Regions from separate parts of the Homo sapiens genome. Here regions 1 and 2 are each linked to region 3. The links are contacts of gene promoters, found by promoter capture Hi-C in blood cells and fetal thymus (Javierre and others, 2016). All regions are on one chromosome and are shown on one strand. The core of a region is centred on a gene start or on the middle of the fragment in contact, and the rest is flanking DNA. Distances in the headings are between cores, read along the strand shown.

The links. The method cuts DNA at HindIII sites, captures the fragments that hold promoters and counts their contacts. A CHiCAGO score of 5 or more calls a contact.
Region 1: a contact is called between a fragment that was not itself captured here and the fragment with the promoter of TNRC6B-DT in region 3, in 4 of 17 cell types (activated CD4 T cells, megakaryocytes, endothelial precursors and 1 more). The highest score is 7.0, in activated CD4 T cells.
Region 2: a fragment that was not itself captured here is called in contact with the fragment with the promoter of TNRC6B-DT in region 3 in 1 of 17 cell types (activated CD4 T cells); the score reaches 5.5 in activated CD4 T cells.

The regions. Positions count from the first base shown.
Region 1 is chr22:40,257,789-40,261,098 of GRCh38, forward strand. The region is part of intron 3 of TNRC6B (trinucleotide repeat containing adaptor 6B); the gene reads left to right. It overlaps LOC124905121 (a long non-coding RNA gene), which reads right to left. Exons shown (of 2, transcript XR_007068107.1): 2 at 1,254-2,580. Among named protein-coding and RNA genes, the nearest start is that of TNRC6B, 82 kb to the left of the region's middle. The HindIII fragment of the contact is 2,510 bases long and covers 672-3,181 here.
Region 2 is chr22:40,238,818-40,241,822 of GRCh38, forward strand. The region is part of intron 1 of TNRC6B (trinucleotide repeat containing adaptor 6B); the gene reads left to right. Among named protein-coding and RNA genes, the nearest start is that of TNRC6B, 62 kb to the left of the region's middle. The HindIII fragment of the contact is 6,227 bases long and covers 1-3,005 here.
Region 3 is chr22:40,042,890-40,045,914 of GRCh38, forward strand. TNRC6B-DT (TNRC6B divergent transcript) reads right to left here and starts at 1,641. Exons shown (of 1, transcript NR_163486.1): 1 at 241-1,641. It overlaps FAM83F (family with sequence similarity 83 member F), which reads left to right. Exons shown (of 5, transcript NM_138435.4): 5 at 1-645. It also overlaps a transcript of TNRC6B not described here. RefSeq lists enhancers at 636-1,283, 1,365-1,664, 1,975-2,094 and silencers at 2,395-2,614, 2,625-2,694. The HindIII fragment of the contact is 12,286 bases long and covers 1-3,025 here.

The DNA of each region.
Region 1 (3,310 bases), core at 677-3,176, 220 kb after region 3:
GAGGCGGGCAGATCACCTGAAGTCAGGAGTTCGAGACTAGCCTGGCCAAGATGATGAAACTCCGTCTCTGTTAAACATACAAAAATTAGTGAGGCGTGGTGGTGCACGCCAGCTACTCGGGAGGCTGAGGCAGGAGAATCACTTGAACCTGGAAGGTGGAGGTTGCAGGAAGCTGAGATCCTGCTACTCCACTCTAGCCTGGGCAACAGAGCAAGACTCAGTCTCAAAAAACAAACAAAAAAAGAAGTAAATGAATGGAAATCAGAAAATAGGATACACAGCCTTTTTTTTTTTTTTTTTTTTTTTTTTTTTTACCCCACAATGTTTTTATTTCCCTATAGTACTGAGATCATGTTTAAGCCACAAACCTTTCCTCTGGAAGATAAGAAACTATGCACTTACTTTGAACAGCTCATCTTTAGAAAAACTTGCACAACTTACAAATCCTTAAGATTCAGAAAAGAGACAGCCTGAAAAGTAACATATTCAGACTTTTAATGATAGCTTCTCTTGCCCTTTATCGTCTAACATTCTGGACCATGATGATGGGTGATGCACACTGATTCTGATGTCTTAAGTTTGGACTTTGGGAGTCAATTTGGATCAGACATCCTGCCTGAAAAGCTGTGTTGCTCTCCAATTAGTGCCGGCAATTCTGGTTGGCCTTTAAAAGCTTAACATTCTTGGATTCACAGAAAGGTGTGATTTAAAAAATAGAGTAAGAATTCATTCAGGTGCTGAAACACAGTTTGCTATGACTAAGGTGGTGTCTTGGGCGTTTTCTGACTGTTTCCTGGAGGTTTTGTTTTTTTCTTTTTATACTTTGACCTATTTGTACATGATGTCCTGGAGTTTGAATGACTAATCTCCTGGGCCAGAGCACACTGTATTGGGAGGAAAGTGGTTGAGGTGTGTTCCCATTTTATAATGACTTTATCATTTACAATCCATTCTGTCTCTGATGTGGTGGGAAAGTGCCCTGAGGAACTTTTGCAAGGAATCTTACATGATACGTGATACCTACCAAATTTCTTCAGTTGAAACAGTGCTGTGAATGTTTTAAAGTGAGTCAAACTGGTGTTCAGCCCTCAGTCCTGCAGGTCACTCTGTCATGTCTTGTTGTTTTTCTGGATTGAGTTAAAAGTATGTAGTAGACCTGGGTAACTTATAATGAAGATTCTTGACCTTTATAGCAGGGCAGCCTTACAGAAACATAGCTCTTTCTGTCCTAAAAACCAGTTGGGATGAATTTCTCCAGTCTCTGCCAACTTCTTGTTTATTCTCATAATAAGATAAAAGGGGATTGCGAATGCCCTGTGCTATAGAATCCTCCAGTAACAGATAGAAAATTAATATTAAATAATCTTCATTCATTCATTTACCAGTTATGTATCCATCTGTTGTTATAGGTCATGAATATTAGATAATGACTAATTTTCTTTTCTTTTTTTTTTGAGACAGAGTCTTGCTCTGTGGCCCAGGCTGGAGGGCAGTGGCACGATCTCGGCTCACTGCAACCCCCGCTTCCCAGGTTCAAGCAATTCTCGTCCTCAGCCTCCTGAGTAGCTGGGAATACAGGCGCATGCCACCACGCCCAGCTAATTTTTGTATTTTTAGTAGAGACTAGGTTTCACAATGTCGGCCAGGATGGTCTCGATCTCCTGACCCTGTGATCTACCCACCTCGGCCTCCCAAAGTGCTGGGATTACAGGCGTGAGCCATCGCGCCTGGCCGACTAATTTTATTTTCTTAAGTCACACATTTATTCTGCTCATCAGATTTTGGATCCTCTGACCTCCACTCCCCCTCCCCTTACTGGGAGGCCTGGTGCTGCCTTGTGATTAGCTGAGGTTAGACATGGGGTTACCTGGAAATTGCTGCAGGCACCTGCTCTTTTCTCCTGTCACCCACAGTATGTTAATGTCCAGTAGTGGCATAGATTGGGCCGCCTGATTTCTGATGATGTATCTCTCTCATAAAGGAGCCAGTTCAGCAAGCAACATGCTGGCCCCGCATCATTTTAGCAGTCAAAGCAGTACTACCCCCAGAGTTGGCCCTGACGTTACCCTGGGAGGCAGGGATTTGGGCCTCAGAATCATCCGAACTGTCAGGCTTGATGATTATTTCTGTACGACTTCCAGCCTCTATTTGCCAGGTAGATTTTTATGGAGAGGGTAGTGATCTTCTGGCAGCATGCAGCGAGGGAGGTACAGATCTAAGAGAGCCTTCTCTGTATGTTCGACGGGAAGAGCCAGAGGGTCCGGCAGAGTGCGGTTTCACGGTTGCCCCGACATTCCCACGCTGTGTGCGGGCCATTTTTAAAATTAAGTTTAAAAAAATCAAATGATTTAAAGTAAACAGAAAAAGTATTTACATTTTGAAATTTCTATTTTAAAGAATTGGGAAGAAACACTTTTTTTTTTTTTTAAAGAAAAGCAAAAAGATTTGTAACATTTCTAGTATTTACACAGAGAGCGGTGCAAGTCTTTGAGTCCAGGTAGCTGTAGAAACCAGAACCAAGCTGAGTTTGTGATTTTCTAGGCCTGGAGTTTCTTGTAAGAGTCCACTCTGTGCCATGCCCTAAGGAAGAAAGAAAAGATGAAAGATGGGTCCTTGCCCTCAGGAAGTCATGGCCTGGTGAGGGAGAAGGACTTGTAAATGGAGAATTTCTGTGATAGAGAGAGATGGGACTTGTAGATGGAGAATTTCGGTGGTAGAGATAGATGGATTTTTGAATGGAGAATTTTCATGGTAGAGAGAGATGGATGATGTGTTCCAGGAGCACTTAGGAAGAATGTTTAGCCCATCTAGGCCAGGGGCTTCAATAAAGTTTACTCAGGGGTAGATCTTTTAAGAATGTGGATGAAGGGAAGGGACCCTTGGACTGAGGCTTGAAACCTTTCCCAAGGACTTTGCCATGGACATTTAACTCTTCTAGGCAGCACTTCAGGGAATTAATTCCACTGTTGATTTAGGGGAGTGAATGTTGATTGCTTCCCTCTCCGCCTTAATTAATGGAATGTATTCCATGACCTTGCTGTGTTTAAATTCTTGTCACTGTCAGCCGCCACCTTCATCCTACCTTCAGCAAACTGGAGAGATTGTGGAGAATTTGGAAAAACTGTTTCCCTTGAGAGTAGAGTAAAAGGAGAAGTTACTTTGTTAGAATTGGTACCATGTAAGCTTTCTTACAAATAATCTTAGCCAGGGTCTGGGTGTGGTGGCTCACACCTGTAATCCCAGCACTTTGGGAGGCCGAGGTGGGTAAATAGCTTGAGTTCAGGAGTTCGAGACCAGTCTAGGTAGGCAA
Region 2 (3,005 bases), core at 241-2,740, 200 kb after region 3:
TCATTTGTTGCCTTTCTCCCCCACTGGGATGTAAGTCACATGAGAGCCAAAGCTCGGTTTTGTTTCTGCCAGATCTCCAGTGCTTAGAAAAAGTGCCTGGCTCGGCTGGGCGCAGTGGCTCACGCCTGTAATCCTAGCACTTTGGGAGGCCAAGGTGGGCGGATCACTTGAGGTCAGGAGTTCAAGACCAGGCCAGCCAACATAGTGAGACCCCGTCTCTACTAAAAATACAAAAGTTAGCTGGGCGTGGTGGCAGGCGCCTGTAATCTCAGCAACTCAGGAGGCTGAGGCGTGAGAATCACTTGAACCTGGGAGGCGGAGGTTGCAGTGTGCTGAGATTGCGCCACGGCACTGCAGCGTGGGTGACAGAGCAAGACTCCATCTCAAAAAGAAAAGAAAAGTGCCTGGCTCATATTAGACAATAAATGTTTGTTAAAGGAATGAGTCAGTTCCTGGACATCCTAGTAGAAGAGAGCCAAGTCAGTCTGTGCCTTCCGGTCTGTGCCTGTTACCACCCTGGTAAAAGCAGCCATGCCGCAGAAAGTCACTTCAGGTGCTCTGATGCTGCCAGTACCGGTGTCATCTGCCTTGAGACCTTGAGGGCCAAACAAGAGACGGGGCAATAGTTGTGGGGTCTGCAGAAGAAGGCAAGTTTCTCTAGAGTTGGAGTTACTGGGGATGGTGCTGTTGAAGCAAGTGGATATTGAGCTAGGACTTGCCACTAGGGTAAGGTGTGATGGGCATTAAAGAGGATGGTTTTTGTCAGGCGTGCAGAATGAGGAAAATGTAAAAGCTAGAACTGTACTATGAATGGCTTTGAATGCCAATTACAGATGCTTCAAGCTCTTAGCTTTCCCTTTGCATGGTCTCGGACCATTGGAGGGTTCAGTTCTGGGATGTAGCCGGTTCCTAGGGATCTCAGCATCGTTGCTTTTTGGTGTTCTGAACTTGCATGCGGGGCAGTCTTGTTATGCCTCAGCTTAAGTGAATATTGTGAATATTGGGTATTTTCTTTTTTTGTTTTTCTTTCTTTTTTTTGAGACCGAGTCTCGCTTTGTCTCCCAGGCTGGAGTGCAGTGGCGCGATCTCAGCTCACTGCAACTTCTGCCTCCCAGGTTCAAATGACTCTCCTGCCTCAGCCTCCCAAGCAGCTGGGTAGCCCGCCACCATGCCCAGCTAATTTTTTTGTATTTTTAGTAGAGATGGGGTTTCGCCATGTTGGCTAGGCTGATCTCAAACTCCTGACCTCATGATTTGCCCGCCTCAGCCTCCGAAAGTGCTGGGATTACAGGCATGAGCAACTGTGCCCGGCCGAATATTGGGTATTTTCTATTCAGGTACAAGTCACTTCTACTTTTCTCTACTATTATTGTAAAAAATTAAGAAGAAAACACTGTTGTATTCGCTCTTCACCTGAGAGGTTCTCAAGAGTAGTTTGGCTTTTTACCATTCAGGATTTATTCTAGATTATGGTGTTTGCACTTGCTTTATCTTTTGCCTGCCTGCACAGTACCTCCCACACATTCGTCCCCTGCAGAGGCAATATTAAACCCCCAGCTCCCCTAGACAATGCTTCGTAACCTTTTCAGGTCAAGACACACAGAGAAAAGATTAGTACAGCACACTGGGGTAAGTAGATGAGGTTGGACTGGGCTAGCAGCAGTCCCAGGCTGGGCTGTAAGGAGTTTGAGGGGCTTTGTATTCCATATGTACCTGGAAGCTGGGTGCACCTATAAACTATTCTTGGCACAAAGTTAGGGAATTGGAGGTGCCCATAGTATTGCTTTGGAAGCCATAGTAGAGACTCAGTAAATACTTAACTGAATTTGTTGAATGAATTAAATAATTTGAAAGTGATGAGTTTTACATCTGGCTGTATATTTAGAGATGAGAGAAAATATGAATGATTTCTCTTGCCCTTCATACTTAGAAGCAATTGATGATCAAGTAGGACCCACCTAGTCACCTGGCATTTGCATTTGTTGCTGTATGGGAGGGTTTTTTATTGTTGTTGTTTGTTTTGGAGACAGGGTCTCACTCTGTTGCCCACACTGGAGTGCAGTGGCATGATTATGACTCACTGCAGCCTCAGCTTCCTGGGCTCAGGTGATGGGAGGTTTGATTTTTGAGACATAAATCAGGTAATAATGTTTTCAAGTGTAGGTATAAACAAGAATTTAGAGCAGTTTCTCAACCCTAGCTACATGTTAGAACCACTTGGAGGGACTTCTGAAAATCCCTGGAGATTTCTATGTAATTGACCTGGGGTACTGCCTGAGCAATAGTTTTGTGTTTGTTGTTTATATTTTCTTTTGTTTTTGGAAACAATCTCGAACTTACAGAGTTTGAATCTGTATGATTTTAAAAAGCCTCTTTTTCCCCTGAGTCATTTGAGAATTAACTGCTGATCCAATGCTGTCACCTGTAGCCCTTTCACCAATACTATAGTCTGTTTCTAACAAAAAGAACATTCTGGTGTAAAACCACAATATAACCATCAAAGGGAAAAAATTAACACACCGATTCATGACCACCACTTACTCTTCAGCTCCATTCAAGGTGTGAGATTTGCCGCACATTGCATTTGGTTGTTAGGTCTTTGCAGTCTCCTTTCATTTGGAACAATTCCTCAATCTTTCCTTGACTGTCACAGCCTTAAAACTTTTGAAGATTGCAGGCCAGTATATTTTGTAGAATGCCTCTGAATGTGGAGTTGTCTGATGGTTCCTTTGATGGTATTCAGGTTAAACACATTTAAAAGGACTCATAGAATCAATGCTGTGTTCTTCTTACAGCATCCTGTCATGTAACTCACAGTTTGAATTTGTCCCATAGCTGATGATGTTCACATGGATTACTTGATTAAGGTGGTATCTTGACAGGCTTCTCCTTGACGTAATTACTCTTCTCAACCCTTTATGACAAGTATTTTATGGGGAGGTGTTTTGAAACTATGTGACTATTCCATTCCTCATTTCAATTTATTCATTTGCTTATTTCTCTCT
Region 3 (3,025 bases), core at 391-2,890:
AATGTTTCTCATTCATTGTGTTTTTGAGTTCAGAATCCCCATACTGGAAGGCTAATATGGGGTATGTGCATACAATTTTAAGGACTCACGTTCTTACAACCTATATTAGAATTTGACGCACGATCTTTCTTCTGTCCTTCTTGCAGTTGCCCTAGGAATACATGCCACTTACTCTTAATTGACGTTTATGAAATACCTTGGCTTCATTTGCTGAAAGGCTCTAAGTGTTGAGCATTGTTACTATGTTACAATGGTTGTTTTATTATTAAAGCAGTGCCAAGGAGGTTACACAACAGCTTGGATCAGGAAGTGAAACAAGGGCGGTGATCCCACTGAAGCTACAGGGGATGGGGATTTGGGACGGTAAAATGTTAATTACCCAAGATGGAATGTGGGCTAGAGTCCAGCGTTGTGCTCCTGGAGATCATTTCGGTCGCAAAAGCTCACTGGCAATGGGTCCTAAGCGTCCTGCCCTCCTCTGGCTGAAATGTTGGATTCACTTCGATGAATGCTGCTATAGGGAAAGAACCCAGTGGCCACCAGCCAGGAGCACACGTCTTGCTCAGCATCAACTATCCTGGAAGATTTCCAGGAGCTGAAGGGCTGTTCTCTTTGCATGCAATAAATTATTCATTTCTAAGACGATTTATTCTGTCTCTCTCTTTAGACTTGATTTCTCCTAGTTTTCCAGCTCTTGAGGACTCTCTCCAAAGAATGAGTTGTAGATGGTTGGTCAGGGGTTGCGAGTGGTGCCTAGGCTTCGCATAAAAGGAGGCAGAAATGTCTACCTTAAAGGGGAGAGGAATGGGTCCTGGGGAGGAAGATGTGGTGGAGGCAATGACAACCTTTCCATAGTAAGTCCCCAACAAAGTCACTTCTAGAAACTGACTGAAGACTTTGAGTTCCAAATGAAACGTTTTTAAGATGCTAGGTTGGCTGACAAGTACATCGTCTAAGGTGGAGGCACTAAAGCATAATAAAAAGAGTGAAGTCTCTGCAGTTTGACCCAGGACCAGATGCCAGGCCCACCAACGACTCTGTATCTGGATGACCTTGGGCAAGTTTTCTAAGCTCTCGCCAGCCTTAATTTCCCATCTATAAAAACTGGATACTGCATTACTCCCAGGTTTAACCAGATAATGTTTGTGAAGAAAGCAGCCCAATACTTGGCACAAAATAGGCAAGGGAGTCACTATTATCGTCAACTACTGGCCAAACAACCAGAGTTGACCCCAAATCCCCAGTAAACAATTAACCGTAGCAGAGCGAATCCGGATCTGACGCACCTATTTGCCCAATAAGGTGCCAGGAAATAACACAGTGGAGTCAAACCAATGGTATTAGCCCTTGTTGATGGACGGGCTTTCTTGCTGTTCCACCAATAGCTTGAAGATTTGACTGGGGAGTGACATCCTGACAGTCCAATGACGCACAACCAGCCCACACTCAGCACTTCGGAGGGGATAAATCAAGGAGCCGGCACGTATGGATTCCGTTATAGGGCAGTACTGGTTGGAGAGAGGAGCTTAGGGAAACAGCGCCGAGGCAAGGCACTAATGAGCTAAAAATAAAGAAAAAAGACGATGGTTGCGCCAAGCGACCTCGGCCGCCATCATGCTCTAATTTCCCCTGAGTCTCTCTGGGTCCTCGACCGAGGAAGCGGCCTCTGGGATGCTGAGGGGGTGTGTCCCCACATGATTGGCTCAGGCAGCTCAGCCAATCCTAGCTCGTTAAACGGGAAGCACTTAACCAATGAGGGGCGAAGGCAGCAACGAGGAATTGGAGGGGCGGAACGACAGCTTGACGGGCACAAAAGCCAGCCAGTGAGAGCCGGAAGCATCCTCCCTGCGGCCAATGGAGTGGGGCTCTGGGCGGGCCCCCGAGTGTTTGTGTTGTGGTTTTGGGGGAGGGATGCGGAGGGGAAAGTTTGTTTATTTTGTTTTTAGTTTTTGGGGTCCCCGTGCTGCTGCAAGGCGAAACGGGAGGGAGTGACCCCTGCGCCCCTCAGTCCCCCCTACGACGTCGCCTCCATAGTCTGCGGAGAAGCGGAGACTGCGCGCCTCGCCTCACAGCGAAACGCCGCGCACTCGGAGCCGGCACGGCTCGGCGGTGAGTGAGGTGCGGCGGCCGCGCCGTCCTTCCCCTCCCCCGCGCCCCGCCGGGACGGAGCGGGGCGGCCGGGGGTCGGCGAGGGCGCCCCCGGGGGCGCGCGGCGCGGCCCGGGGCGGTGAGCGGAGGCGCGGCGTGTGCGTGTCCTCGCGAGGGAGCGCGCGTGGGGCGGGGAGCGGGCCGGGGAGGGGGCGTGAGCGCGCGCGGGGCTGGTGCGGCCGGCGGCGCTGAGCGCGCGCTCCGCGGGAGCGGGCGCCGCCGAGATTTGAGTCGAGGGGCGGGGAGGGACTCGGGGCGACGTCCGGCGCGCGGGCCGGGGCGCCCCGAACGGCCGGGCAGGCACTGGCGGGCGCGCGCGCGGCTCCGGGCGTCACGCGCCAGCAGGTGTGAGCTGGGGGAGGGCTTCCGGGTGGGCTGGCCCGGCCGTCGAGTTCGCTTCCCGTCTCCGGGGGGCCTCGGCGCGGGGACACCTTCCCGGCCCGCGGAGGCGCGTCCGCCCCTGGCTGGCGGTGGCAGAGGGAGGCGTCAGGCCTCGGATCCTCGGGTCCCTGCGCAGCGTCCCGGCCTGTGTGCAGGACCTGCGTGACAAGGTGAATGCGTTCCACACCCCTCGCCAGGGCCCTGCGTGTGCGGCCACTTGGGGAGGCGGCTCAGACTCTGGACAAGGAAACGAGGGGCACGGAGAGTGTTTTTACACCTTCCCGTGGTCCGGTGCCCTTCAGTTCCAGACTACCGGTTTATTCGGCTGTAGAGGCTGGACATCCGATCCAGCGAGACACGCTGTAGTGGTTAAAGACGTCCAGTAACGGTCACCTCTAGTCAAGCGCCTTAAGGACCAGCTTATTCTGAATTCTTTGGAATTCAGGTTACCAGCCTGGGACTTTAAGTTCGTGCTTTCTCATGTGTTTTGGCTGTT